Regions from separate parts of the Homo sapiens genome. Here all the other regions are linked to region 3. The links are contacts of gene promoters, found by promoter capture Hi-C in blood cells and fetal thymus (Javierre and others, 2016). All regions are on one chromosome and are shown on one strand. The core of a region is centred on a gene start or on the middle of the fragment in contact, and the rest is flanking DNA. Distances in the headings are between cores, read along the strand shown.

Region 1 (4,493 bases), core at 419-2,918, 260 kb after region 3:
TACATTTTAAAAGCAAATCTGGGGTTGCACTGTTTATATATTGTTATAATCTGATTTTTCCACTTAATGTTACAAGCATTTTGATGCCTTTAAATATTCTACTAAAACATGATATTTATGGCTGCATAGTATTTCCTTAAATGGATTTAACTAGGGTATTTCTCTACTCTATAAGAGACACTCATCATAGCACTATCTAAAAGTACTTGATTATCCCTCTGATCATTTTCTTTGGATAAAAAACAAAGCTACTGGGTATGGAGAATAACCATTTGAAATATACTACCGCCAGGCGCAGTGGCTCACACCTGTAATCCCAGCACTTTGAGGGGCGGGGGCAGGTGGATCACCTGAGGTCAAGAGTTGGAGACCAGCCAGGCCAACATAGTGAAAATCAGCTGGGCATGGTAGCATGCACCTGTAATCCCAGCTACTCGGGAGGCTGAGACAGGAGAATCGCTTGAACCCGGGAGGCGGAGGTTGCAGTTAGCAGAGATCGAGCCACTGAACTGCAGCCTGGGCGACAGAGCAAGACTCCGTCCCCCCCCAAAAATATATACATATACTGCCAAATCGCCCTCCTGCGATGTGGGAGGAACCACATTCAAACCATTACACATGTAAAACACTGCACAACTGCTAAGAGATCAAGGTCTGAAAACCAGCCTTTGGGTTTGGCTTTCAGGAGGTCACTGTTATAGAAACCTTCTAGGGAAGGCTTTTTAAATGAAGTCCCATCTCAACTACTTTTTCTAAGCTTTAGTTCTCATAAAGAGCAAAGAGCTTTCAACCATCATCTCTGTGAAGAAAGCTGACAAATCTGTTCCTTGCCTTCAGATGTTGCTGCCACATTTCCAACTGCATTTCCAGGCAGATGTCCCTCGGTTACCTCAACAAATCGGAAGCCAAACAGGATACCTTTACCAAAGCTACCGCCCTCTCCTGACTTTCCTACTTTTTGTTCATTTATTGCATAAATGGTTTATTTAATATCCAAGTGGGTAAGGATACCACTCCTGCAGTGCAAGCCATGTGTCCAAAGTATTCTTTCCTAAATACAAGATGAAAGACATTCTGAGACATCCTAACACATTTGATGTTGTTTCTTCATACCCACTATTGATACTGGTGTATGGGTAGGCGCTTAGGGAAGATCTGGGCTAGCTCCAGACCCTCATCAGCTCTTGCTTGGATAAGTGCAATACCTCCTAACTTACCTCCCTACATTGTTTTCATCATTTCGGTACTCCTCAAAACTTTGTTTCCTCAAGCCTAATGGGATAAAAATCCAAATTCCAAGTCCTTCAAATCCAACTGCAACCTTCTTCCCAGCCTTATCTTCTGGTTCCTCACTCAAGCCGCCTGACTCAGTTAAGTCTTTCAGACTCCTTAACGAAAGGACATGATTATAGGTCCATATCCGCTTTGGTACCTTGATCTTTGTTGCTACTTTGTTCTCCACAAACGTGCCCTTTCCTGTCAGCTATCATCTTCTCTCTACCCCTAAAAATCTCACTCATTCCATGAATTTTCTGAACCATTCTGTCCTTTATTTGGGTATTAAGGTAATCAACTTTATTATTCAGGGTCGTAATATTTATTTTTTTTTTTCAGAGACAAGGTCTTGCTCCGCTGTCCAGGCTAGAGTGCAGTGGCACCATTATAGCACATTGCAGCCTTGAATTCCTGGCCTCAGGCGATCCTCCTGCCTCAGCCTCTCAAAGTGCTGAGATTACAGGCATAAGCCACCATGCCCAGCTTCAAGGTCATAATGTTATTAAGTTAAAAGGTGTATATACTCATTTCCTACACTATTGCTTCAAAGCAGAGCTCCAGCTATGAATGTTCGTTAGAAGGTACAGCAATGATAAAGGCACCCTTGTAGTCTGGCTAAAAACAGGCTACCTCATTAAATACGTTTGTAAATTCAGAACTTCCTACCTTTGGAGCCAACTTTTCCATCTGTACTGGTTTGACAGAAGCAGTAGGTTTCAGTTGTTTGTTGACATTTGTTGTTTTGGTGGGTTGAACTGGAACTTTGGTGTTCTGAGCTTTCTATAAGGAAAAAGAAACATGAATAGCGCAAGACAGCCAGCGTTGTGGGACTCAGCACTATACAGAATCGGCCTCTGTATTCACATTCAGTCTTCATCATTGTTACCTTAGCTACTTGTGCTGCTCTGGTTGTAACTCTATTTCCAATTTCTTCTAAAACAGTTCGCCTAATAGTCACATGACTCTTAACTTTAGAATTAACTCCTGTGTCAATATTCTCCAAATCACTGGACACCTGAAAAAAAAAAAAAAAAGTAATGAAACCTTGAAAGAATTTGAAATACTTTGCTAATGTTAGATACTCAAATTTAGAATTGCTTTGGGAAAGGACAATACGTCAAGATCTATTTGCAAGATGGAAAAGGTACATTTCAGGAAGTCTAAAAATGCTATTTGTGATTAATAACATCACTCTAAATTAGGCAAATCACCCATCTACTTTATCCGTAATAAAGATCCTCCCACTAACCTTGCAAAGCTATTCTGAGTATTCAAGTGGGCCTGTAAGAGAACTTCAAAGCTTATTAGTATTTAATGATTATTTCTCATATAGTACCCATATCACTTGTTAGAGATCCCTGCAAGTTAAAGGCATATATTTAAAAACCTTCCTTTACAGAGCTTGGTAAAAAGTAAATTAAGATGAAAAATAATAAAGCTATAATATTAATAGTTAATAATAGGTCTGGTTGTTTAAAAACCAGATGTTTAAAACCTAAACTAGCTTTGATTCTTATGCCATTTCACAAATAAGAAATGCTCCTGTATGCATGATCTTTTAGAACTACAGCTTTTTAAAATGAGGTTGCCATAGAATGGATTTTCTCTTATATTAAGGACATTTAGAATGGAAGTAGTTTTCTTGAGTAATATAGTTTTAGCTCCCAAACTCAGGGAAGGTTGGAATTGTATGAAATAAAAATTGTCAGTTGACCTTAACCTGCTTTAGACATAATGTGCTTGGAAATAAAACTTGCTAGGAAAAGCAACTCATACCAAAAAAAGTTTATTATAGAAGTGATAAACATTTCATTAAAAAAGAAAAAAGCAAAAAACCAGCATGTCCTATCCCTGAGAGTTCAGGGTCCCGACTCTAATAAAACTCCCAACAAGGGGTTTGAGTGGATCTACCAGGCAGAGAGAGGGGCCAGGGAAACTCAAGCCTTCCCTGAACAGAAAGGTTTTGACTATTAAATAACGTTATAGAATACATTATTATAAAAAATTACTTGTCAGTTGGACTTAGATCCACAAAAGGATATTAATTAAATGCTAAATGTATTCAATCTATTAGGATTCTCAAAAGTCACACTTCAATTTCTTCCAGCAGCAACTGCCAATCTGAAAAAGTGTTTGAAAATGTAATGCTTATGGGTAGAAGCCTGGTAATGTGACTCAATTTAAATTCATCTGGATAGGAAAATTGGCAGCTTTTATCTAACCTTATAGCCAAGATGATGGAACTCAGGTGTGTCAGGGCCCTCTAGCTTTCGGCAAAGGAAAAAAGTAGGTCCCGGTACAATTCAAGCCCACAGGAAAAATACCCAAAACACCATAACACTTTGATCTCTGCAAGGATGAAATAAATGAATTTGGACCCTTTTCTCTCAGTCTGCCACATTGGTCCAAATTATATTCAAAAACCTCTGTTACATTTGAGTAAAGAAATTAATTTTTTAAGGGGACAAACCCATTTATTAGTGAACGTAGCATGGAAGACTTAGCGTGCCGAAATAAATGGGAAACTCATACAAAAAGAAATGTGAACAATCTGAAAAACAGCCTGGCAGTTGCCTGATGAAACACGCCGTACACTTTACTGCCTACAGAACCCTTCCAGTCCTCCTCCCAGCCGCCATCACAGGTCCCTTAGTTGGCAAGGAGTTGTAAGAAAGGGGGAGGGAAATCCCAGGAACGTGGAAGTAGATAACTCTCTAGCAATGAAGAGCACTCGGGGATCGCTCGCTGAGTACTAGGCCTAGTGCTCTGGGGGCTCACTTGACAGGCGCCATCTCGGAAGCGCTTTCCTACACTTCTCCCACCCCGGGGCAGGGAGGGGTTAGGGGAGGGCGGAATCCAGACGGGGAAAGGCGGGCCGGAGAGGACCGGCCGCAGGGCCAGGGACGCGGGCGAAGCAGTGAGCTCCGGAGAAGAGAAAAGCAGCCCCGGTTGGGACGGAGAAGCTCGGAGCAGATGAGAGAAGCGACAGGGGAGCTGTGGGGCCGACGGACTCGCCTCTGAGAGCGGTCCCCGGGCACACTCACCGTCGGGCGTCGGAGCAGCGCCATGAGGGACGGGGAAGGCAAGAGTGCCAGCCCGGCCCAGGGAGGGACGCGGACTGAAAAGGGAGGACACTAGCGTACGAGGCGCCGTTAGGACTGCTCTCCGAGCCCGCAGCGCTGGGGATCTTCGACGCTGTAGCCTTGTTCCAGGATTCA
Region 2 (4,483 bases), core at 443-2,942, 370 kb after region 3:
GGATCAGTAAAGATAATTGGGAGAGAAAAGAAGGAGTATTTTAAATTGAAGCTTGTTAAAGGAAGATAACTAAAAACAAAGTTGAGACCTTAAAACTGCTAATCCAGAACTGCCATCTATGAGGGAAAAAACATGCATTCACACTGGAATAAAATAAATAAATCCAAGAGTCTGGGAAGAGGGTTTCAAAAAGATCAACTCAGCTACGGCAAGGAGGATAAACACAGGATAGGTCACTCAAACTTCTTCCATCCCAAGCATCTGGAATGAGAACAAAACCAAGAAAAGTCAATCAGGAAAGAGAAATTAATTTTACAGTAGCTTATTAATATTTTAGAAGATACAGTATCACTGACAATACATTAGCTATCACTTATTCATTTATGGTTCTCATTCAATAAATATTTATTGAAAGCCTATAATGAGCTAGGCACTTGTTTTAGGCACTGGCATCAGCCACGAACAGGACATAGAAAGTCTTTGCTCTCATGGAAATTACATGCAAATGAGACCAAAAAACCAAGATAATTTTAGAGCGAAACACGTGCTATTAAGAAAATACGCCACGTGCAGTGGCTCACACCTGTAATTCCAGCAGTTTGGGAGGCTGAGGCAGGCAGATCGCTTGAGCTCAGGAGTTCAAGACCAGCCTGGGCAACACGGCAAAACCCTGTCTCTACAAAAAATTTTAAAAAAATTAGCTGGGTGTGGTAGCACGCACCTGTAGTCCCAGCTACTGGAGAGGCTGAGGTGGGAGGATGGTTTGAGCCTAGGAGGTGGAGGTTGCAGTAAGCAGGGATCATGCCACTGCACTCCAGTCTGAGCAACAGAGCCAGACTCTGTCTCAAAAAAGAAAAAGGCCGGGTGTGGCGGCTCACACCTGTAATCCCATAACTTTGGGAGGTCAAGGTGGGCAGATGGCTTGAGCTCAGGAGTTCCAGACCAGCCTGGGCCACAGGGCAAAAGCATGTCTCTACAAAAACTTAGCTGGGTGTGGTGGTACATGCCTGTCCCAGCTACTCAGGAGGCTGAGGTGGGAGGATCGCTTGAGCCCAGGAGGCAGAGGTTGCAGTGAGCTGACATTGAGCCACTGCACTCCAGCCTGCGAAACTGAGTGAGACCTTGTCTCGAAAAAAGAAAAAAGAAAATTAAACAGGCAGTAGGATCACTTGAGGCCAGGAGTTCAAGGCTGCAGTAAGCTTTAATAGCACCTGTGAATAGCCAACTGCAATCCCGCGCTGGCAACATAATGAGATCTTATCACAAAAAAGGAAGAAAGAAAACAAAACAAATGTAAAGGTTGACCATCAACAGGATCCTCTCTAAGAAGCTAAAGACATGAATCATGACAAGAAACTAGCCACTAGTCAGTCAAGCCACACAATTCTAGAGGAAGAGTATTCCTGGGAGAGAAAAAATAGGAAAGACTATGTGACAGGAATATGCCTAACAGGTGCAAAGAACTAAAAGAAGGGAAGTGGAAGGAAAGGGAAATGGCACACAATGACATCAGAAGTAGTCAGGGCCAGATCAGGTAGAGCCTGTAGGGAACTGTGTGCCACATTTTTATTTCATTTTATCTTTACTAAGAACTATAGGGAACTGAAGATTACAGAAGTGACTTGCCTAAGACCTGATAGCAAAGCCTGGATCTAAATGACTATCTAAGTTGTTGAGTTTGGTCACTCTCTCTCTTTTTTTTTTTTTAATTAAATGCACAGTTATGAGGGCTTTCACTCAGAACTTCAGTTCCCATGACTACTTTTACATAAGATTATTACATATGTTACTCAACCGTACTTCCCGTATTTACCATGCAGATTTTCAGGAACTTGTCCCTCACATAAGAATGTTCTAATAAAGCATGGTAACTGCTACAAATAACAAAGTACCAAATACCATGGGAAAACGGAAGGGACAGCTATTAATTCTAAAGGAAAAACCTGAAAGAAGTTTAAGAGTTGATCTTTAAAAGTAAAATTTCAAGTGGAGAATAAGGATAAGGATACATCAGAGAAATGGCGGGAAGATAGTCAAGAAAATAGAATGGTGAGTTTTAACCAACACTATACAGTAGTCTCCCCTTAACCACAATTTACTGTCTACGGTTTCAGTTACCTATGGTCAACCATGGTCCAAAAATATTAAAGAAAAAACTCTAGAAATAAACAGCTCACAAGCTTTAACCGCTTATGAATGCCTACACAGTGCCCATGTCATTAACCTCATTTCGCCATTTTATCATCATTTTCCGTCATCACAAGAAAGGTGAGTACAATATTTTGAGAGATGACATTCACACAATTTTTATTAAATATAGTTATAAATTTTTTTATTAGTTATTGCTATTAATGTCTTACTCTGCCCAATGTATAAATTAAACTTTATAATAGGTATGCATGTTGTGGCTGTTAAGCATCTACTGGGGGTCTTGGACTGTATCCCTCATGGATAAGGGAGGACTACTGTACTTAGTTCTTTAAACATGATTTCATAAAAAATAAAATAAAATCCCATGATAATGTATGTTTTGTAGGTGTTCTGTAACAAATCTTATATCACATGATTTTCTTCACTTAATAAAAGTATTAAGTATTTTCTATTAAAGAACCTAGCTGTCAAAATAGACTTAGTCTTCCTAAAGTGAACCTATTCGCCAAATGTGGAGAGCCCATTTCCATGTCACTAATATAACTTTTTCCTGGTAAAACTGTCATGATTATCAAAAGCAAAAGTTCACATTTTTTAAAAACATGGTAAGTTATACAAGACCTTTATTTCAAATCTCCCTCCAATCCCCACTAAACTGATAGTAAAAAGAATTTTTTTTTAATCAACAACAAAAATAGGAACTAATAGCAGGCAAAGTAGAGATGGCAATAGAATCCTGTTACCTGATTGACAGGAAATCCAGAAAAGAGAAGAGAGGTAAAAAATGGCTAAGAAGTTATCAAAGGCAATGTAAATATTTCATATAACTGAAGAACATGAACCCTTCATACCTCTGTTCTCAGAGACCACCATTCTCCTCCTCACCTACTCCACTAAAGCCCCAGTAGTTTCTAGGCTATTTCTCAAGCAGGTCAACCATGCTATGGCTAGTCACGCTGCCTTGAATGCTCTTCCCCCAGATAACCACGAGGCTCACTCATTCACTTCCTTTACATCTGTGTTCAAATGTTTCCTTATCCATGATACCTTCCCTGACCACCTCACATTAGTAGTTAATACCAACATTAAAATTTTTGTGGAAAGGCAAAAAAATAAAAAGTTAACCCCACCCTCTATCTTCCTTTTCCAGCTCACTTATTTCCACAATGACCATCTACAACTTTGTTTCCCCACCAGAGCAGATTTCGTTTTGATCACTACTATGTGCCCAAAAGCTTAGAACACATATTTGGCATTCAATAGGCATTTGCTGAATTGTTCTTTAAAATAATCAAAAATTCTGACATAACTGAAAGATGGGATGAAAGGAGAATAGTGGGCTCATCTACCATCAAAAATTGGTTAATTCTCTGCAGCAGCAGTTATCTTTTTTTTTTTTTTTTGAGACGGAGTTCAGCTCTGTCACCCAGGATGGAGCGGAGTGGTGCCATCTTGGCTCACTGAAACATCTGCCTCCCAGTTCAAGCAATTCTCGTGCCTCAGCCTCCCGAATAGCTAGGATTATAGGCGCCCGCCACCATACCTGGCTGTTTTGTATTTTTCGTAGAGACAGGGTTTCCCCAAGTTGGCCAGGCTGGTCTCAAATTCCTGACCTCAGGTGATCCGCCTGCCTCGGCCTCCCAAAGTGCTGCAATTACAGATGTGAGCCACCAGGCCCGGTCCTGAGGTCCTTCATAATCTTAAAAATGGGCCGGGTGCCTAGCAGTTTGAGATCAGCCTGGACAACATGGTGAAACCCGTCTCTACTAAAAATAGAAAAATGAGCCAAGTGTGGTGGTACATGCCTGTAGTCCCAGCTACTTGGGAGGCTGAAGTGGGAGGACTGCCTGAGCCCAGGAGGCAGAGAATGTAGTGAACTAAGATCTCACCACTGCACTCTAGCCTGGGTAACAGAGAGAGACCCTGTCTCAAAAAAAAAAAAAAAAAAGGGAAAAAAAAAATCACTGGAAGATCTGAAAAAGCTTTTATTATATGGGTTATATCTACTGATACTTATTGATATGGTCTGGATCTGTGTCCTCAACCAAATCTCAGGTCAAAGTGTAATTCCCATTGTTGGAGGTGGGGCCTGCCTGGAGGTGACTGGATTATCTGGGCAATTTCTAATGGTTCAGCACCATCCCTTTGGTGCTGTTCTCATTATGGAGTTCTCATGAGATGTGGTTTTTTAAAATTGTGTGGCACTTCCCCCTTCTCTCCTGCTCCTGCCATGTAAGACACCTACTCTTGCTTTGCCCTCTACCATGAGTAAAAGCTCAGAGGCCTCCCCAGAAGCAGATGCTGCCACGCTTCCTATAAAACCTATGGAACC
Region 3 (4,417 bases), core at 985-3,484:
CTTGCTATGATGCCCAGGCTGGTCTTGAATGCCTGGCTTCAGGCAATCCTACCATCTTGGCCTCCTAAAGCGCTAGCACTGTAGGCATGAGCCACTGAGCTTGGCTGACCTAATAATATTCTGAAGCTGATATTTCCCTATGAGATATGGAGTCAGACTTATCTGAGACTTTATCATGTCTGTGTGTACCTAGGCAATGCCTAGTACAGATGGCATGCTGTTTTCTTTCCAATTCATACTACATAACTATGTCAGATGAATTTCCTGCCCTAAACTATAGCTCCAAATATGGCAGTTCCTTGCACAAAACTACTGTCGCATTTCATTATGCTTGCTTCTTTCCTGTATTTATTCTTTCTAAAAATTTATCGTTTGTTTTCCCCATCCTAAAATTGTAAGCTCAGTGAGGGCAGGGACCAGTTGTAGCTCCAGTGTTTAGCTGTGCTGTCTTATAACACACATTCGATTATATTGTTGCCAAACTATGTAAATGATTACTACAAGAATTTGGACAATATGATTTTCTTTCAACTTTTAAAAGTGAGATATAATGAACGTACCATAAGACTCACCCATTTAAAAAGCATAACACAGTGGTTTTTAGTATATTCATAAACTTGTACAATCATCACCACTAATTCCAGAATATTTTCATCACTTCAATAGGAAAATGCATACCTGTTAGCAATTACTTCCATCTCCCCTCTCCCCCAGCCCCTAGCAAACCACTAACCTACTTTTTATCTCTATAGATTTCCCTATCCTCAACTTTCATTTAAATGGAATTATATAATATGTGGTCTTTTGCTCCTGGCTTAACACGATATTTTCGAGATTCATCCATGTTGTAACATTTTGTTTACCCTTTTAGACAAGATAAAGTTTAATACCCTTTCTAACTCTATGCTCAGATAGTCAAGTGAAGAGCTACAACCAAATTTCTTTTTCCTTTCTTCCTTTCTTCTCTCTCTCTCTCTTTCTTTCTTTCCTTCTTTTTTTTTTTGACAGAATCTTGCTCTGTCGCCCAGGCTGGAGTAGAGTGGAACGATCCCGGCTCCCTGCGACCTCCGCCTCCCCTGTTTAAACGATTCTCGTGCCTCAGCCTCCCGAGTAGCTGAGATTACAGGCATGTATAACCATGCCGGGCTAATTTTTGTATTTTTAGTAGAGAAGGGGTTTCACCGTGTTGGTGGCCAGGCTGGTCTCAAACTCCTGACCTCACGTGATCCACCAACCTCAGCCTCCCAAAGTGCTGGGATTGTAGGCGTGAGCCACAGCGCCCTGCCTCAACCAAATTTCAGAAAGTATCATAATATCATTATGCTTCATAGTTTCTCTATGCCCTGAAGTTTACCAATTTTATCTTCTACAGATTCCAGGAAGGCAGCCTGTTAAGACTCACCAAATTTACTTCCTCAGCCTCCAGAACAATAAAATCAAACTCCCTACCTTGATTTTAAGATTCTGCTTCCCCCCACCCCGCCCCACCCCAATCTTCTCCTTGGATATTCGACAGTCTGGAATAATGCATTTTTACAGTTCTGATTGTTTTCAGCAGATGTGTTGGCTGAGGTTGGATGGGGTTTCTTCCCACCTATCTCTCCTCTCTCCTTCCCTCTGCCCACTGCACGTGCAACAACTTTTCTGCCATCAAAACGTGCAAAAAAGAAACAAGAAAGAAAGGAAAGAGAAAGAAAAGAAAAACAGAAAAAAGAAAAGAAAAAGCAGCCGGAAGTCTTCCTTTGTTTTCCAAGGAAATTCAGGTAAAAGGAGGGGTGGGGAAATGATATTTTTGACTTTGCTCACAATCCAGACGTAGGAAAGAAAAAGGATTTCCTTTGGGCTGCTGCCACGACTCTGATGTTTTATGCTGATAAAATATTTCCTTCTTAAAAAAAAGTTCTGGGAAAATCATGCCCCTTCAACTTGGAAGCGAAACCCACCCTAACTTTCGTCTTAAAACGCAGCGAAGTGAAAGGTTTGCTCCTCTTTCACGAGGGTTTTGTTCCTTACAGTTCGGGTCTTGCTACCAGGAGCGAGCTGGGTCCGCAGCGTTCTTCGGTGGCTGGCGCGGGAGGAGGACTACAGGATCCAGAGATCTTTGGAAACTCCAGCAGCTCCAAGCTTGTTGGCTACTACGGTTTCCCTGAGGAGTGACGCTACGAAAACAAACCCTGATTGGTCAGGCCTGAGCTGAGTTCTCCATTTATGGACAGATTGCCCGGCCCGAGCCGAGACTCAGCCAGAGGAGTACGGATTAAGTGGCCGAAGAAAGAGGAGTGAGGCAGGGGAGCGAGGCGGACGCTCCGAGCGCATCGGACTCACCTGGGCCGGCGGCGACCGGCGAGTACGAGTGGACTCTTGCCCTCCGCAGCATGCGCCCCGCCTGCTAAGTCGCCGCCGTCTCGCCCTCACCTAGCACCGCCAATCCCGCCTGGATGGAGTCCCCTCTGGGTTCCCATTGGCTCCTGTGAGTGCTTGGGTGTCGGGAGCCTGTTTTTGGCGAGGGGAACCAACTTTTGAAGTTCGCCCAGAAGACTGCGTTCCAGCCCCAGTTCCCCGGCAGCGGGACCCGGCGAAGACGCGACCGCGGCGCGAGTCACCATGGTGAGTTGGCCGCGCCGCGTCCTAGGACGCCGGACCCGGGGACGGGGCAGGAAACCCCGGCGTGGTGCACCCACCTTGGGCGCGCTGCCGGGGCCAGGGGTGGAGAAGGTGGACGCGGGAGCCGGCACGTCGCGAGCTCTGATTTCCTGCCGCTTTCCGTAAACCCGGGCCGGGGGAGAGCGAGCGAGGGGCCAAGGAAAACTTTATTCCAAGTCGGTTTCTGCGTCGCGAAACTTTCTGTGGCCGGGTTGCTATGGCTGCCAGCTGTCGGAAGCCAGGGTGTGGGCGCATCGGCTGCGAGGGGCACGGCGCGGGAGGGGGTCCCCTCCTCCTGCTGGGACGTGGGGGGCGCAGCCGGCAGGGGAGGTGCTCGGAGACTCGCGCCGCAGCCGCTGGCGGCGTCCCCTGCCCTCCCCGCGGCCGTGCCCGCCCCGCCCCGGGCACCCTCGCGCCGACTCCCTCTCCTCCCCGCCGCCGCTCCGCTGCCCGGCAGCGCCCGCAGCTGTCCCGCCTGGCAGCGGCACGCGGGCGGGGGCGGTCCCTGGCCCGCCTTGGCGAGGGGCGGCGCGGGCCGCACAAAGGCAGGCGGGGGCGCCAGGTAGGGCGAGCACCTGGCGGCCGGCGGGCTGTCAAGAGCCAGGGAGACTCGGGCGCGGGCGGCAACCACGCCGCCCCGGACCTGTGCCGGGCGCCGGCCCCGAGGGTCTCCGCGCCCCGGACGCCAAGTAAACACCTCCTGAAGAGGACCCCACCCCTTCCCAAGCGCGAGGGGATCGGGGCTTTTCGGGGATCCAGGGGACGCTTCGCACGGGAAGACGCCCTCGCGAGTTTCGAGTTTGTTGCTGTTTTCCCTTTGGCACTTTGGGAATGTGTGGAAGGGGCCGCCTCTTTGACTTGTGACTTTTCTGCTATTCCAACTCCCCAGTCCAGCTACACTCCCCTCCCTCCCTGTATAACCTTAGCCACCTCCCTTGGGCTTTGGCGTGGTGTACTTTTCTTTGCGGGGCACGAAAGCAAGGACTCTATTTTGAAGAGATCGGCAGTTCATCAAAAAAAAAAAAATCTATTACAAGGCTTCATAGTTTCCACACTTGCTTCTTTTCAAGTAGTCCTGCTTAGGTGGATTATCTCGTCCTCTTCTGGTTTGCTGTTGTTTTCTAATGGCTGTGGAAGAGAAGCCAAGTCAAAATGATAACCAGCACAACACTAATTAAAAAATCGATATCCCGGTGAGCAGCCTGAGGGAAGTGCAGCAGAGGCCCATCGAAACCTGCACACAAAGCTCAGAAGCCCCCTTGCCCCGTGCTGTTTATTCCAAAGAATGATTACAAACAAACATCAACGAGAAACCTTTCAAGGCATCCTCGGCCAAAGCCTTTTCTTTTTACATAGTCCAAAATTAAGTCACTTTTGCCCCATCTAAGAGAACACTTTGTCTATACATTTCCTCTTCTAGTTTTAAGGTTTAAGAAGTCAGTCTACTCTACGTTACTTTTGGACCCCTTCCCTCACCCCAGCAGAGAACCATTCCCATTGGGCATGTGTTTGGGTGAAGCTACCTCACTGGGCACCTGGTCCCTTGAAGCAGTGTGATAGTCCTGGTACTTGAGAATTGCTGTAATCATTTTCCGTGGGTCAATATTTCTTAAAAAAATCAATGTGTTTATGTCAAGAACTTAAAGAATCTTACTGAATTTAAGTACTTGAGTGGTACCTTGAGGAAATTAACTTCCCCTCAGTTAAACTCATTTTTCATGCTGAATGGACTGAAATATACTCTAGGTTGCCTTTTCCGAAACCTGTGATACCA
Region 4 (4,477 bases), core at 1,833-4,332, 280 kb after region 3:
GGTGTCAAAAAGGTTGGGGACCGTTGGTATTGAGCATGGTTTAAGACACGTATTTAACATGTCTACCCCATAACTGTATAATGCTATACAAGCAACTGAGGGTAGAGTAGAAGAAACATACATCAATAAAATGTCCGTCAAAATAAATTGCTAGTTAAAAAAATTACAGTACTGCCATATGATGGAATTCTGCATAAGCTATTAAAAATAATAAGGGTGATCTGTGGGAGCTAATTGGCATGAAAGGCAATCTGCAAACTATGTGGTAATCATCTCCTTTTGTGTTTTTTTTAAAGTAGACAAAAATATATATACATATGCACATTATTAGAAAATGCTAAAAAATATCTAGAAGAATATCTAAATCCTTAACTATGATTTCACTTCTGGGAAGAAGGACTAGGGTCTGCAGAGTAAAAAACTGCAAAGTATATATTTTTTATACTTTCCAAAATTTTTAAACAATATGTATGCATTACTTCAATAAAAATGTCATTGCTAGAGTCTACAAATTCAAAAAAGGTATATATTACATTTATGCCTTTCAGTAACACTCCAGAAGTTTCATAGAATAAATTCTTACCTTTTTGTATTTATGTGGATATGTACATCTTTCAATTGTCCCCTGGGATGCTCCACGATTGACATTGCCTAATCTTTCTTCCAAATGAATCAGTTCCTGAAAGTGAAGAATATAATGACTGGTAAAAGCCAAGATGATTATTCCTTGAACAGAACTGTCAACATTGTATAAGAAATAAACCTCCATACTTAGAAACTTGCAATATAAATACAGTGTTCAAAAAAACTTACACATGACAAGTGGTTACTTATATATAAGTATATATATAAAACAGTTTATATGTTGCCCAGGCTGGTCTCAAACTCCTGGCCTCAAGTGATCCTCCCACCTCGGCCTCCTAAACTGCTGAGATTACAGGTGTGAGCCACCATGCCTGACTTAATGTTTCTCATAGACAGTAAGGCAAATGGTTGTTTATCATGTTTTCCTCAGCCAACTGAAATGGTACAGCAAAAGTTATCTTTATAAATTACAACAATATTATCACATGGTACTATGTAAGTCAGTATGTATGTATGTATGGAGAAGATGAAATAATTCTAGTAAATTAAGGAACCAAATCAAACAATAGTTCTAAGTCACAATGACTCCAACTTCCAAACTGACATAAAAAAAACACAACGGGGGCCGGGTGCGGTGGCTTGCGCCTGTAATCCCAGTACTTTGGGAGGCCAAGGTGGGTGGATCACTTGAGGTCAGGAGTTCAAGAGCAGCCTGGCCAACATGGCAAAACACTATCTCTACTAAAAATACAAAAATTAGCCGGGCGTGGTGGCGGGCACCTGTAATCCCAGCTACTCAGGAAGCCGAGGCAGGAGAATTGCTTGAACCCAGGAGGCGCAGGTTGCAGTGAGCTGAGATTGTGCAACTGCACTCCAGTCTGGGTGACAGAGCAAGACTCCATCTAAAAAAACAACAACAACAAACAAACAAACAAACAAACAAAAAAACAAACCACAACAAAACTTTAAATCCCATTCGAATGATTTGTTCTTCCTGAAAATTCAAACAAGACATTTAGCTACAAAGGGAATTACTTAAGTTTCTTTTTCTCTACCGATTTCTCTAAAAATTTAGCTGAGTCAAAAACATTCCGTTCCCCACCACATTTAATGGTATAGTTATATATCTGACATTTATATTGATTTAATACATTTTTATATTCTTCTATATTAGATATTTTCATTTACTCATCTTTAAATATTTCGGTAACTTTTGACCCTAAGATTAATAATACTTACAAATATTTCTGTAACTCCCAGAAGCAACATCAGAAAATCACATGTGATTCCCAGCCACTGTAGCAGTCCTACACAATTGTGTATAGTAGTATATATATACTCAATCTGCATTAAAGATACTGTGACAAACATATTCATTTATTTTATTACATACCTCAAAATTGCCCCTGAAAGGACCTCTGAATGATGTTCCATCCAATCCTGATGAAATGTAACGGATGTGAGGATAGCCTGCCATATCAGGAACCTATTTCAACAGAAGAGATAGGCTAAATCAATTTTAAGAATAGACTTGTGATTTACTGTTAACATTGAATAATTCAAGACCCTCAATGTTTTCAATTCAACTGCTCATAAAATTTGACTTCAATAAGAATACATAACTCCAACTAAGCATTCTGTAACAGGTTTAGGTTTCTGTTAAAATATAACCTAACTCTCCAAAATGCCCAAACTTAAGCCTGAGGCTCTTAGTAGCTCAAACTTGAAAAGAGTAAAATTGTCTTAAGATCCTGTCCATTTCAGAGAGCTTTATTAAAACAACAACAAAAAATGCACACAATTTTCCAACAAAATTCGACTTCAAGATAAGTTTTTTACTTCACTTCTGTTAAGCTTCCTAACAGCCAAAGTACCCTATGCCTTTTTTGCTTGATTCTATTAGGGAAACTTTTAACACTGTTTTCTAATTTTTTGTTAGTTACAGTCAATCTTCATTATTTATGGATTACATATGTGTGAACTGACCCACAGGCTAAAATTTACTTGTAACCCCATAATCAACACTTGTGCTTTCAGAGTCATTCGTGGATATGACCGGTGGCAAAAAATTGCAGTTGCCCAACATGCAACTCTGTTCCCAGCTGAGGTAGAACAGGGCTCTGCCGTATTTGAGCTCCTACTATAAACCAGTGTCTTGTTTGCAGACTGTTTAGTGCCACGTTTTTCACAGTTTTGTGCTTTTTGTTGGTGATTGTGTTGTTTAAAATGGCACCCAAGCATAGAGCTGAAGTGCTGTCTAGTGTTCCTAAGCAAAGAAGGCTGTCATACACCTTATGGAGAGAATAAGTTTCATTCACGCATGAGTTACAGTGTTGTTGGCTATGAGTTCAATGTTAATGATTCTACAATATTTTTTAAAGTTGTCTTTAAGCAGAAACACACATAAAAAAGGTTATACACTGATTAGTTGTGAACAGAGGTTTGCAAGGGTCCCATATTTGCTAATTCAGTGTTTGCAGCAACTGTATAGATCATAACTGCCATGCATAGTGAGAGTATTAGGAAAGGGCATTTCTGAGATACAGCACCATTCTTCCATCTTTATAAATAAATCTCTGACATTACTTTTTAATTAGCCTACACTGAATCACAACATACTTTAAGCAGAATTTATAGCTTTAACGGACACTTCATATGTGGAAAAGAATTTAAATAAGCAATAACTTTTAACCTTCAATAGCCTATTACTTAAATTGTTTACAACTTTTCTTATAACCAAGATCATTACTACTCAGCAGATAACCCAACCTCCTAAACATCTTCAAAGAAATCGGAAAGGAACTCCTGCATCCCAAATTATCTAAATCTTCACTTACCCTGAAAAGCCTCTCCTCCCTAGTCTCTTTCCTCCAGCCTTTATGGATGAGCTTTTCTCCTATTCGAACTCAATCCTTATCACCCACTCCTCCCTTCACCTGTTCACCCTGGGTCATGCTTACTTCACTACTTCCCACCAAGCCTCTCTCTCTTCAATATCTTCAAACAATTCCTCTCTAATGGTTTTCTGTCTTAAACCTGAAAATACCTTAAGTTTTTCCAAACCTAAATTCTCTACTAATCCTGGAATTACTGCCAACCAAATAGGGGTTTCCTTCACTTTCCCTTCACAGCCAAGCTTATAAAGCAAGAAGGCTATATTCACTGTCTCCATGTTTTCACTTCCTTACCGTACGTAATCTAAGAGGTGCCCCATCTACATCACTCACCATTACTGAACCATTCTGACACAAAAGACCAATAACCACTCTACTGCCAAATGCTTTCAATACTTTTCAAACTTTATTTTTTTGTGATGACACCATACTGACCATATTACAGTTCACCCTTGAACAACATAAAATGGGTTTGAACTGCATGGGTCTGCTTACATGTAGATTTTCTGCCACCTCTGCCACCCCAGAGACAGCAAGATGAATCCCTCCTTTTCCTACTCTTCAGCTTACTCAATGTGAAGACAATAAGGAAAGAGACCTTTATAATGATACACTTTCACTTAACGAATAGTAAATGTATTTTCCCTTCCTTATAATTTTCTTAACATTTTTTTCTACTTTATTGTAAACTATCATTATCTATTGTAGACTATCATTATCACGTACTTATAACATACAGAATATGTGTTGATCAACTGTTTATTTTAGCAGTAAGGCTTCCGATCAACAATAGACTATTAGTAGTTAAGATTTTAGGAACTCAAAAGTTATACTCTGATTTTCGACTGTGAGGAGGGTCAACACCCCTAACCTCTGCATTGTTCAAGTGGTAACTGTATTTTCTGATATTATTTTAACTGTGTTTCTCAACTTTTCAAGCCAGTTCTCAGAATCCTTTGTTCAAAGCATAGTATTATCATTTAAATACAGTATTGTCA
Region 5 (4,585 bases), core at 1,585-4,084, 440 kb after region 3:
ATCTTAAGCACACCTGGGTATCAGAGATGAGGACAACTCACTATTTTAAGTCTTCCTAGGTTAGGAGAGTCCCCTGTTTGTGCCAAAGGAAATTGAAAAGGGCTAATAAGCATTCCCTGGGAGAGGTGGGGATGTAGTTTAGAGAAGTAAAAAAGTTATCTTAAAGGTAGCTTTTAAGATAACTCTGACTCAGTGTATCACTTTGAGAGATACATTTTCTGTATTTAAAGAAGCTTGTCATGAGAAGACTGCCAACAAACCAGAGGCTATTTCAAAATGGAAAACGATAGAAATTCAGAAATAAGTATATCAGGAATTAACCATGTGTCTTGCAGTAGTTTTGATTCATATCTTTTACCTAGCATGCTGTGCTAGTTTGACAGGTACTGTGTATTAATCATAGTCCCAGGTTGTTTGAGTTGACTATTATTTTAGCATTGAAAATAAACATGATTTATTCCTTTCTCACCTACTTTTAATTTCTCTGTATATCCCTTTTTCAGTTTTGACTAGGAACATCATTTATCTCTTATTATTAGAAATAATTTCAGCAATATAAAATTTTAAGGGTTTTTTCAATACATTTTATGACAGGTATATATATCTATATATATGATATATAGATTATATATAGGTGTATATATATCATATATGATATATATATATATTTTTTAATAGGGTATTGCTCTGTTGCCCAGGCTAGAGTGCAGTGGTGCCTAGCTCTTTGCAGCCTCAAACTCCTGGGCTTAAGTGATCCCTCCCACCTTAGCCTCCCTGGTAGCTGGGACTACAGGCATGTGCCACCACAACATTTTAAATAAGTAAACATTATTTATTTTTATCAGTATGTTTGCTAATTTTTTTCTTTGTATGGGTTATACTTGAACTTTATTCCATAACTCTGATGTTAAGAGGTCTTAAGGTATTCAGTTAGAAGTTGTAACATTTGGGGGCCGGGTGCAGTGGCTCACGCCTGTAATCCCAGCAGTTTGAGAGGCTGAGGCGGGTGGATCACCTGCGGTCGGGAATTCGAGAGCAGCCTGGCCAACATGGCCAAACCCCATCTCTACTAAAAATACAAAAAAAAAAAAAAAAAAAATAGCTGGGCATGGTGGCGCGCGTGCCTGTAGTCCCAGCTACTCGGGAGGCTGGGGAGGCTGAGACAGGAGAATCGCTTGAACCCAGGAGGTGGAGGTTGCAGTGAGCTAAGGTCACTCCACTGCAGTCCAGCATGAGACCCCATCTCAAAAAAAAAAGAAGTTGTAACATTCAATCATTTGTTTGTAGCAGGCCTCATTCTAAGAGATGCATGACAAAAAGCTCTAGTCTTCTTGAAATCCGGCTATCATTGTTATGAAAATCTTGTGAATTACAAAGAATATAATGTAAATCTCCAACTCCAAACAGTTTGAATTAATTTACAATAAAGATGCTTATTGATTCAATTATTTTATTTTTATTATTTTTAATATGAGAGATTTTGAACCCAGTTTACTTATTAAAGAATGCTCTTGTCTCAAATTCCAAGCGCTACTGATCATCTTTAGAGCCAGTTTTGCTTAAATGCGTCATACCAACTCAGTTCTAGCCTTCTAAAATGGCAGAGTTCTAAAATGGCAGAGATGTTTTCTCTGCCATTTTACAAAGTGATAAGATTATTTTAGGCCGGGTGCAGTGGCTCATGCCTATAATCCCAAAAGGCCAAGGTGGGAGGATCGCTTGAGTCCAGTAGTTCAAGACCAGCCTGAGCAACATAGTGAGACCCTATCTCTATTTTAAAAAAGAATTAAGATGTTTAAATAATAACTTTTAGAAACCAAATTTGTATAGGGAAACTTATTAAAATATCAATAATGAACAGATTTGAAAACCAAGGATATATTAAATATTGTTTTAATGTGATGTCCGTTTTTCTTTTCTTTTCTTTTTTTTGAGATGGAGTTTCGCTCTTGTCACCCAGGCTAGAGTGCAATGGTGTGATCTCGGCTCACTGCAACCTCCGCCTCCCGGTTTCAAGCGATTCTCCTGCCTCAGCCTCCCGAGTAGCTGAGATTACAGGCATGCGCCACCACTCCAAACTAATTTTGTATTTTTAGTAGAGACGGGTTTCTCCAGTTGGTCAGGCTTGTCTTGAACTCCCAACCTCAGGTAATCCTCCCGCCTCGGCCTCCCAAAGTGAGCCACCGCACCTGGCTGATAATCAGTTTTTCAATCAAGTTGCTGAATTACTACATTCAATTCTTTTTGCCAGATCTTGTTTTACTTACTGGTATCTACATTGAAAATAATTTCATCTTGGTTATGCCACTTTTCCTTCAGTGCGCCTGTTTTCTCTTTTGTAAAACTGGAAATTTTACTAGGTCCCCTGTAAGGCTCTTTTAGTTCTGAAATTTAATAATTATATAGACAAAAATGAGAAGAAAATGCTTTCTGTTTAACTAAAATGATGTTTAAGGAAGCAACAGGTAAGCTCATAGGAAATCAGTATCGTTTTTCTTCAGCACAAATTATTAGAAAACGAAAAGTGCCAAGAAGGGGATTACGTAGAGGTAATTATGTAGACATCAGCGAGACATAATATATAATAGCTGGTCAGGAAAAGAAATGATTCTTATGACAATATTAAGGTAGTGAATAAAAGTTAAATGACGAGAAGCTTCATAGGTATGGAAAAAATACTTTGGTGAAACATTGAGCTTATTCTTTTATAAAATAACTATAGGGTAACTTTCTTTTAAAAATGTATGTTAAAATGATTCTATTTAGAGAGGTTAGAGGGAAAGGAACCTACATTTTTAAGTTTCTCCTAGAATATTTTTTAAATGCAGCTATTACAAGCACAAACAATGTTGATAATGTTATAGTGGGCTCTGACATTTATATCAACATATTTATAAAATTCCTTTACATGTAGTTAATAGAGTAGATGTTTGTATCTTAGAATGGCTTTCCTGAGTCTTCACACTCTCTTTGTTATGAACTTTTAAATAAGTAACTTAGGAGAAAGCTTCACCCATTGAAGTTTACGGTTATATTAATTGGGTGTGTGTTTAAAAAGTAGTTAAACAGGTAGAGCTAACTTCTCATTAGGTTGTTTTAGAGATTATAGATTTAAAGACTTTTGGTTTACCTGATGCTGGCATATCCTTTTCTTTTAAAATTTCAACCTTTAAAGTCACCAATTAACTTCAGCAAAAGTGATGTGGTTAATCAGTACAGTATTTAGAACTATATGTAATGCAATACTTACCGACATTAAAACTAATTTGCAATACCTGGCAGCTTTAAAAAGACTAAAAATGATGTGTACAATCTGATTTTTCTTCTATAGAAACAAATATATTTTGAGGTTATAGGTTTGGCCAAACATCTAATGTATAATTTTTTGTGGAAAATACCACAGACTACATATTTATAATTAAGTACATGTTTACTCTGTAAAGCTTTCTAAAACTGGTATCAATTAAATGTAGTAATCAGCCATATAAAGCACATTTCATATAACACAGTATCATAGTGTACTGTAATTAGCTTTTTTCCTCCAGCTGTAGTATGTTCAGATGTTAAGTAACACTTTAATCAGAACTGTGGCATTGAGGAGGACTTTGGGCGTATAATTGTTATAGATATTTCTTAGGTACCTGAAAGGCTGAAAGCTCTGAAGGCCAGGACATAGTTTTTCATTTACCTCTGTCTCTGTAATGCCTGGTGTAGAGCATGGCACGTAATAAGTGCTCAAAAAATATTTGTTGAATGAATACTGAGGGCCTTTTTGGGGCTTTCTTAACTGCTTTTAGAAATACCTCTTTTGGGCCAGGCGCATGGCTCACGCCTGTAATCCCAGTACTTTGGGAAGCTGAGGTGGGCGGATCACCTGATGTCAGGAGTTTGAGACCAGACTGGCTAACATGGTGAAACCCCGTTTTTACTAAAAATACAAAAAATTAGCTGGGCATGGTGTTTCGCATCTGTAATCCTCGCTACTTGGGAGGCCGAGGCAGGAGAATCTCTTGAACCTGGGAGGCAGAGGTTGCAGTGAGCTGAGATTGCGCCATTGCACTCCAGCTTGGGCAACAAGATCATCATCTTTAGATAATCTGTTCATCTTTAGAAACTTGGTCTCAAAAAACAGAAAACAAACAAAAAAAAGAAATATCTCTTTTGGTGCCTATTTTAATTGCATATTTCTTTGTAAGAAGCAGGTATATCAGGGATTAATAGTTTTTATCTTTTTTTTAAAGGTGCCTCTCTCAAGAGCATAATGGCTTCTCCTTACACATTGATATGTAAAATATACTTACTTTTAGAACACATGAATCATTGCATCATCCTTTTATTCTTTACCACATTGATGCTGTGTTGAAAAGCCTCTGAACCTTGCTGGAATACTGTCCAACCTCAGAGGTTGTATATGTCATTTTCATTTCACAAAATTAGCCCTTTTATCGCAGCCATTAAAACATACATTTGGCCAGGCGCGGTGGCTCACACCTATAATCTCAGCACTTTGGGAGGCCGAGGTGGGTGGATCACAAGGTCAGGAGTTCGAGACTAGCCTGGCCAACATGGTGAAACCCCCTCTCTA
Region 6 (4,350 bases), core at 1,851-4,350, 320 kb before region 3:
GCTACTCCAGAGGCTGAGGCACGAGAATCACTTAAATCAAAAAGTGGAGGCTGCAGTGAGCTGAGACCATGCCACTGCACTCCAGCCTGGCAACAAAGTGAGACCCTGTCTCAAAAGAAAAAAAAAAAAGGAACAATCTAAAAGTTCAATAAAGGATTGTTTAATATATACATTATCCATAATGAAAATAATAGCATTGGAATGTATTTATTGACTTGAAAAAGAGTTCATAATATATTTTAATTATTTATTTTTATAATATAGATTCCCATATCTTTCCATAGACTGTAGAGGGTGAAGCCTCAGAATCTGTATTTTTATTTATTTATTTATTTTTGAGACACAGTCTCACTCTGTTGCCCAAGCTAGAGTGCATGGTGTGATTTTGGCTCACTGCAACCTCCACCTCCTGAGTTCACGTGATTCTCCTACCTCAGCACCCCCAAGCAGCTGGGATTACAGGTGCCCACCACCATACCCAGCTGATATTTGTAATTTTAGTAGAGACGTGGTTTCTCCACGTTGGCCAGGCTGGTCTCGAACTCCTGACCTCGGGTGATCCACCCACCTCAGCCTCCCAAAGTGCTGGGATTACAGGTGTGAGCCACTGCACCCAGCTCATATTTTAAATGAAAAGAAGAAAATGGAGATTATAAACCACTAAGTACATTATCTGATTTTTATAAAGACTTATATGTGCAATTTATACATAAAATATATATGTGTGTGAATATATATATATATATAATCTGAAAGGCTATACATAAATATGTTAATAATAATTATCTTTTTGGCTTACTTGTAGTTTGTAATGTTTCAACAATAAGTATGGATAATTAACAAGATAGGGATAAAAAGATAAGTAATAGGATGGCTTACTCGAAACCAAAGCAAACACTGATCAAGCTTATTAAATAATAAAGTTACTAAAATGAAGAAGGAACTGAAGATCTTAAAAAAAAGAAATCACATAACTATATATGATTTCCAGTGATTTTCTGCCACCCTGTGGGGAATTCTGCACATTGCAGAACTGAAGAAGCAAAGTATGAAACTACAAAAACTTCTGTAAATCAAGATGAAATTTCTTGGCCCAAGTAGTTGTTTAGCTAAAGCTCTGTTGATCAGTTTTGTTTTCTCTACTAGCTATTTAGTGAAATTGCTAGACTAGGATAAAAAGAATACCTAATACTTAAATGTGATTACAATATGACAACCAAGGTCCTAATACATATATATGAATTCATCTCACAAAAACCCTATAAGGTAGGTACTATTTTCTTCCCATTTTATCAAAGAGACGGACTTTAATCTACCAATGGTGGGTAAATGTTGCCAAAGCAATGTGAAATCCAGGCAGAATGCTGCATTTTTAGTCAATGATTTAAAATTTTGAGCTTTTCTGTTCCCCTCAGGCCTGATCGTACCCCAATGGAATCACCCAAATACTTGATGCTGAGCCTTTCTATGGATTTATCAGATGAAACTTTGGAAAGGGACTTTTTTTTTTTTTTAAGACAGGGTTTCGCTGTCACCCAGGCTGGAGTGGAGTGGCGCGATCTTGGCTCACTACAACCGCCGCCTGCCAGGCTCCAGAGAGTCTCCCACCTCAGCCTCCCAAGTGGCTGGGACCACAGGTGCATGCCACCAAGCCCACCTAATTTTCTTCTTTTCTTTCTTTCTTCCTTTCTTTCTCTTTGCTTCTTTTTCTTTCTTTCTTTCTCTGTCTCTTTTTTTTTTTTTTTTTTTAAGAGATGGGGTCTCGCCATGTTGCCCTGAGGTCTGGCGATCTACCGACTCGGCCTCTCAAAGTGCTGGGATTACAGTCATGAGCCAGCACGCCCAACTGAGAGAGACTATGATGTTCTCCAAACAAATCTCATTTGGTTGAAACTCTACAGCTGAGTATGGTCTAATTTGAGTAGTTTACCTTGAGTACTCTAACCATGGTCTATAGACCTGGGCTCTTCTGAGAACTGTTTGCAAATGGTTCACAGAGAGAGAGTAGAAAACTCTATGTCAATTTTGCAGGTAATTTTATGGCTGTTAACTCTAACGATAAAAAGTTTTGACTTGGACTTTGTATGTCTTTTCATTTTTCTGTTTTATTAACTTGTCAAAAACTAATTGAAAATTGAAAAAAATAAACCGACCGTTCCCCCAGTGAAGAGAAGCACTGCTGTAAAGCTTTTCACACTCAAATATTACCAAACTCTAAGGTCGCTTCTGAGGCCTAACTCCCCAAAATGATGCCTCGGATATTTTTCCTCGCCTTATTTCTTTTTTTTCTTTTTCTTTTTTTTTTTTTTTCCTTTTTCCTTTTATTTGAGACGGAGTTTTTGCTCTGTTGCCCAAGCTGGAGTGCAATGGCACGATCTCGGCTCACTGCAAACTCCAACTCCGCCTCCGCCTCCGCCCTCGCCTCCTGAGTAGTTGGGATTACAGACGCGCGCCACCACGCCCAGCTAATTTTTGTTTGTTTAGTAGAGACGAGGTGTCACCATGTTGGCCAGGCTGGTCTCGAGCTCTTGACCTCCGGTAATCCACCCGCCTCGCCCTCCCAAAGTGCTGGGATTACAAGCGTAAACCACCGCGCCCGACCTCCTCCCCTTATTTCATCCATTTTATAATTCACATTATTGATCGCTGATAATTGCACCTATTGTAATGATACTGATAATTGCACCTGTTGTAATAATATTGATATTGATAATTGCACCTATTGTATTACAATATTATTATTGATATCGATAATTTCACCTACTGTAATGATCAATAAAGGCAGGCAGAAAGAAAACAAAAGTAACTGAAACTACCAGGCAGCGTCCCTGCGAACAGCAAAGAGGGAAGAAACGCCTTGAGGCGTAGTAACGCCACCAATAAGGAGTCGACGCGACGGGTCCGCCCACAGGCAAGGAAGGCCGACCCCGCGAGTGCAGGCGCGAGCGCTAGCCCGTGACGTCTGAGGGGGTTGGGGGGATGCTGTGTGGGTTTCAAGAAGACGCCACGCCTCCGCCGCCGCCACGCCCCCGCCGCCTCCACCGCCGGCTGCCGCGCCCGGAGGAGGTCGGGATGTTATCACTTCCGCCGGGGCTTCTCACTGTGTCCGGGTCAGCTGCTGCCGCCGACGCCGTACCGCTGCGGCCGGGGGATTGGGCCGGGGTCTCCACCGCCGACCGAGGGGAGCGGGCTCCGCTCGGCCCTGCTTTTTGCGACCTGGCCGTCAGCCCCACGTCGCCGGCCTGGAGGGGCGAAGAGGACGAGGGGGCCAAGGCTTCCTCCGGGGTGAGTGCGGCCTGGGAGAACTCGGCACGGTGGCTCCGGAGCTGGACTGGGAACCGGCCTAGGGGCGAAAGTCTGTCGGGCGCGTGCCCACGACGTCCGGGGAGAGGAAACCCAGAGAGTTACCCTTGGTAGGGGGAGCCATAGAACCTGCTCGGGAGGTGCTTCCTGGATCCCCGCCCTGCTTAGGTCCCCGCCCTTGGCTTGGGTCCTGTTTGTATTTGGCAGTTTGGCCCCCCACCCCGTCGCTTTTCCGTTTCTGGTAGTTGTGCTCGGGATGGAACCTTGCCCCTCCTCCGCTCCCCCACCCTTTTACCCTGGTGTGGGTGAAGTGGCTGGGCTACGATGGTTCAGTATTTATGACCAGCGTCCGTCCTGGTACAGAACAAAGAAACTTGGACTTCTGGTATGCCTCGTAACCGCGGGGAATAGACACGGAAGCAGCATAAGTAATCAGGGCTTTAATAGATCTTCCCTAGTACGCTAAACCAAATACAGAGTGTGTACGTCAAAAGCCGAGTCCCCGCGTGAATCTAGACACAACCCTTTCTGTTTAAATACCTGGCAAAATGGTTTGGATTTCTGGATGCATTTCATGCCGCTGGAGAGTTACTTGTCTGTGTCTTGTGAGCTCTTTGACGAAACAGCTTTTCCGGTGTTGCATCAAGATAGTTACGGTGCCTCCTATTTATTTAATTGAATAAACTATGTGATTGCATTTTAGTGTTGCTTTTTTCATTCTCACCTTCTCTTGATTAGGATCTCTATTTCACCTAATACCTGATTTCGTATTTTCAATTAAATGTAGTTTTTCTAACATTTTATAGGAATCTCTGCAATTGTAGAAACAAATTCTGTAATTTGTAAATGGATGTTTCCTCAAAGTTACAACTGACCTTACCCAATTAAGTTACCCCTGCAGACTAGTTTCTTGATCATTTTGCACATATTCTTAGTTCTTTTTGGTTTACATTTTCTCTAAACTCTATTCCTAGTCTTCATATTCTCTAGTGCAGCCTAATACTGCTGGGCTTAGACCGGAAGTATGACAGATCCACTTCTGCAAAC

The links. Contacts are between HindIII fragments. The CHiCAGO score rates a contact against its expected background, and 5 or more counts as called.
Region 1: a contact is called between a fragment that was not itself captured here and the fragment with the promoter of MYO1E in region 3, in 2 of 17 cell types (M2 macrophages and M1 macrophages). The highest score is 5.6, in M2 macrophages.
Region 2: a fragment that was not itself captured here is called in contact with the fragment with the promoter of MYO1E in region 3 in 2 of 17 cell types (M1 macrophages and M2 macrophages); the score reaches 6.4 in M1 macrophages.
Region 4: a contact is called between a fragment that was not itself captured here and the fragment with the promoter of MYO1E in region 3, in 3 of 17 cell types (naive B cells, M2 macrophages and total B cells). The highest score is 5.8, in naive B cells.
Region 5: a fragment that was not itself captured here is called in contact with the fragment with the promoter of MYO1E in region 3 in 1 of 17 cell types (total B cells); the score reaches 6.3 in total B cells.
Region 6: the fragment with the promoter of BNIP2 here is called in contact with the fragment with the promoter of MYO1E in region 3 in 1 of 17 cell types (monocytes); the score reaches 5.2 in monocytes.

The regions. Positions count from the first base shown.
Region 1 is chr15:59,105,119-59,109,611 of GRCh38, reverse strand. CCNB2 (cyclin B2) reads right to left here and starts at 4,466. Exons shown (of 9, transcript NM_004701.4): 1 at 4,320-4,466; 2 at 2,162-2,290; 3 at 1,942-2,055. The coding sequence starts at 4,343. The HindIII fragment of the contact is 1,818 bases long and covers 760-2,577 here.
Region 2 is chr15:58,999,780-59,004,262 of GRCh38, reverse strand. All of the region lies in intron 1 of RNF111 (ring finger protein 111), which reads right to left. Among named protein-coding and RNA genes, the nearest start is that of RNF111, 14 kb to the right of the region's middle. The HindIII fragment of the contact is 981 bases long and covers 1,202-2,182 here.
Region 3 is chr15:59,370,688-59,375,104 of GRCh38, reverse strand. It overlaps MYO1E (myosin IE), which reads left to right and starts at 2,234. Exons shown (of 28, transcript NM_004998.4): 1 at 2,234-2,607. The coding sequence starts at 2,605. RefSeq lists enhancers at 1,946-2,450, 2,451-2,954 and a silencer at 2,970-3,289. The HindIII fragment of the contact is 5,897 bases long and covers 2,127-4,417 here.
Region 4 is chr15:59,087,261-59,091,737 of GRCh38, reverse strand. RNF111 (ring finger protein 111) reads right to left here. Exons shown (of 14, transcript NM_017610.8): 11 at 1,979-2,071; 12 at 584-679. Among named protein-coding and RNA genes, the nearest start is that of CCNB2, 16 kb to the left of the region's middle. The HindIII fragment of the contact is 1,282 bases long and covers 2,442-3,723 here.
Region 5 is chr15:58,926,796-58,931,380 of GRCh38, reverse strand. The region is part of intron 2 of SLTM (SAFB like transcription modulator); the gene reads left to right. Among named protein-coding and RNA genes, the nearest start is that of SLTM, 4.6 kb to the left of the region's middle. RefSeq lists an enhancer at 3,500-3,999. The HindIII fragment of the contact is 351 bases long and covers 2,659-3,009 here.
Region 6 is chr15:59,688,070-59,692,419 of GRCh38, reverse strand. BNIP2 (BCL2 interacting protein 2) reads left to right here and starts at 3,100. Exons shown (of 10, transcript NM_004330.4): 1 at 3,100-3,285. RefSeq lists a silencer at 2,823-3,332 and an enhancer at 2,746-3,394. The HindIII fragment of the contact is 5,510 bases long and covers 2,190-4,350 here.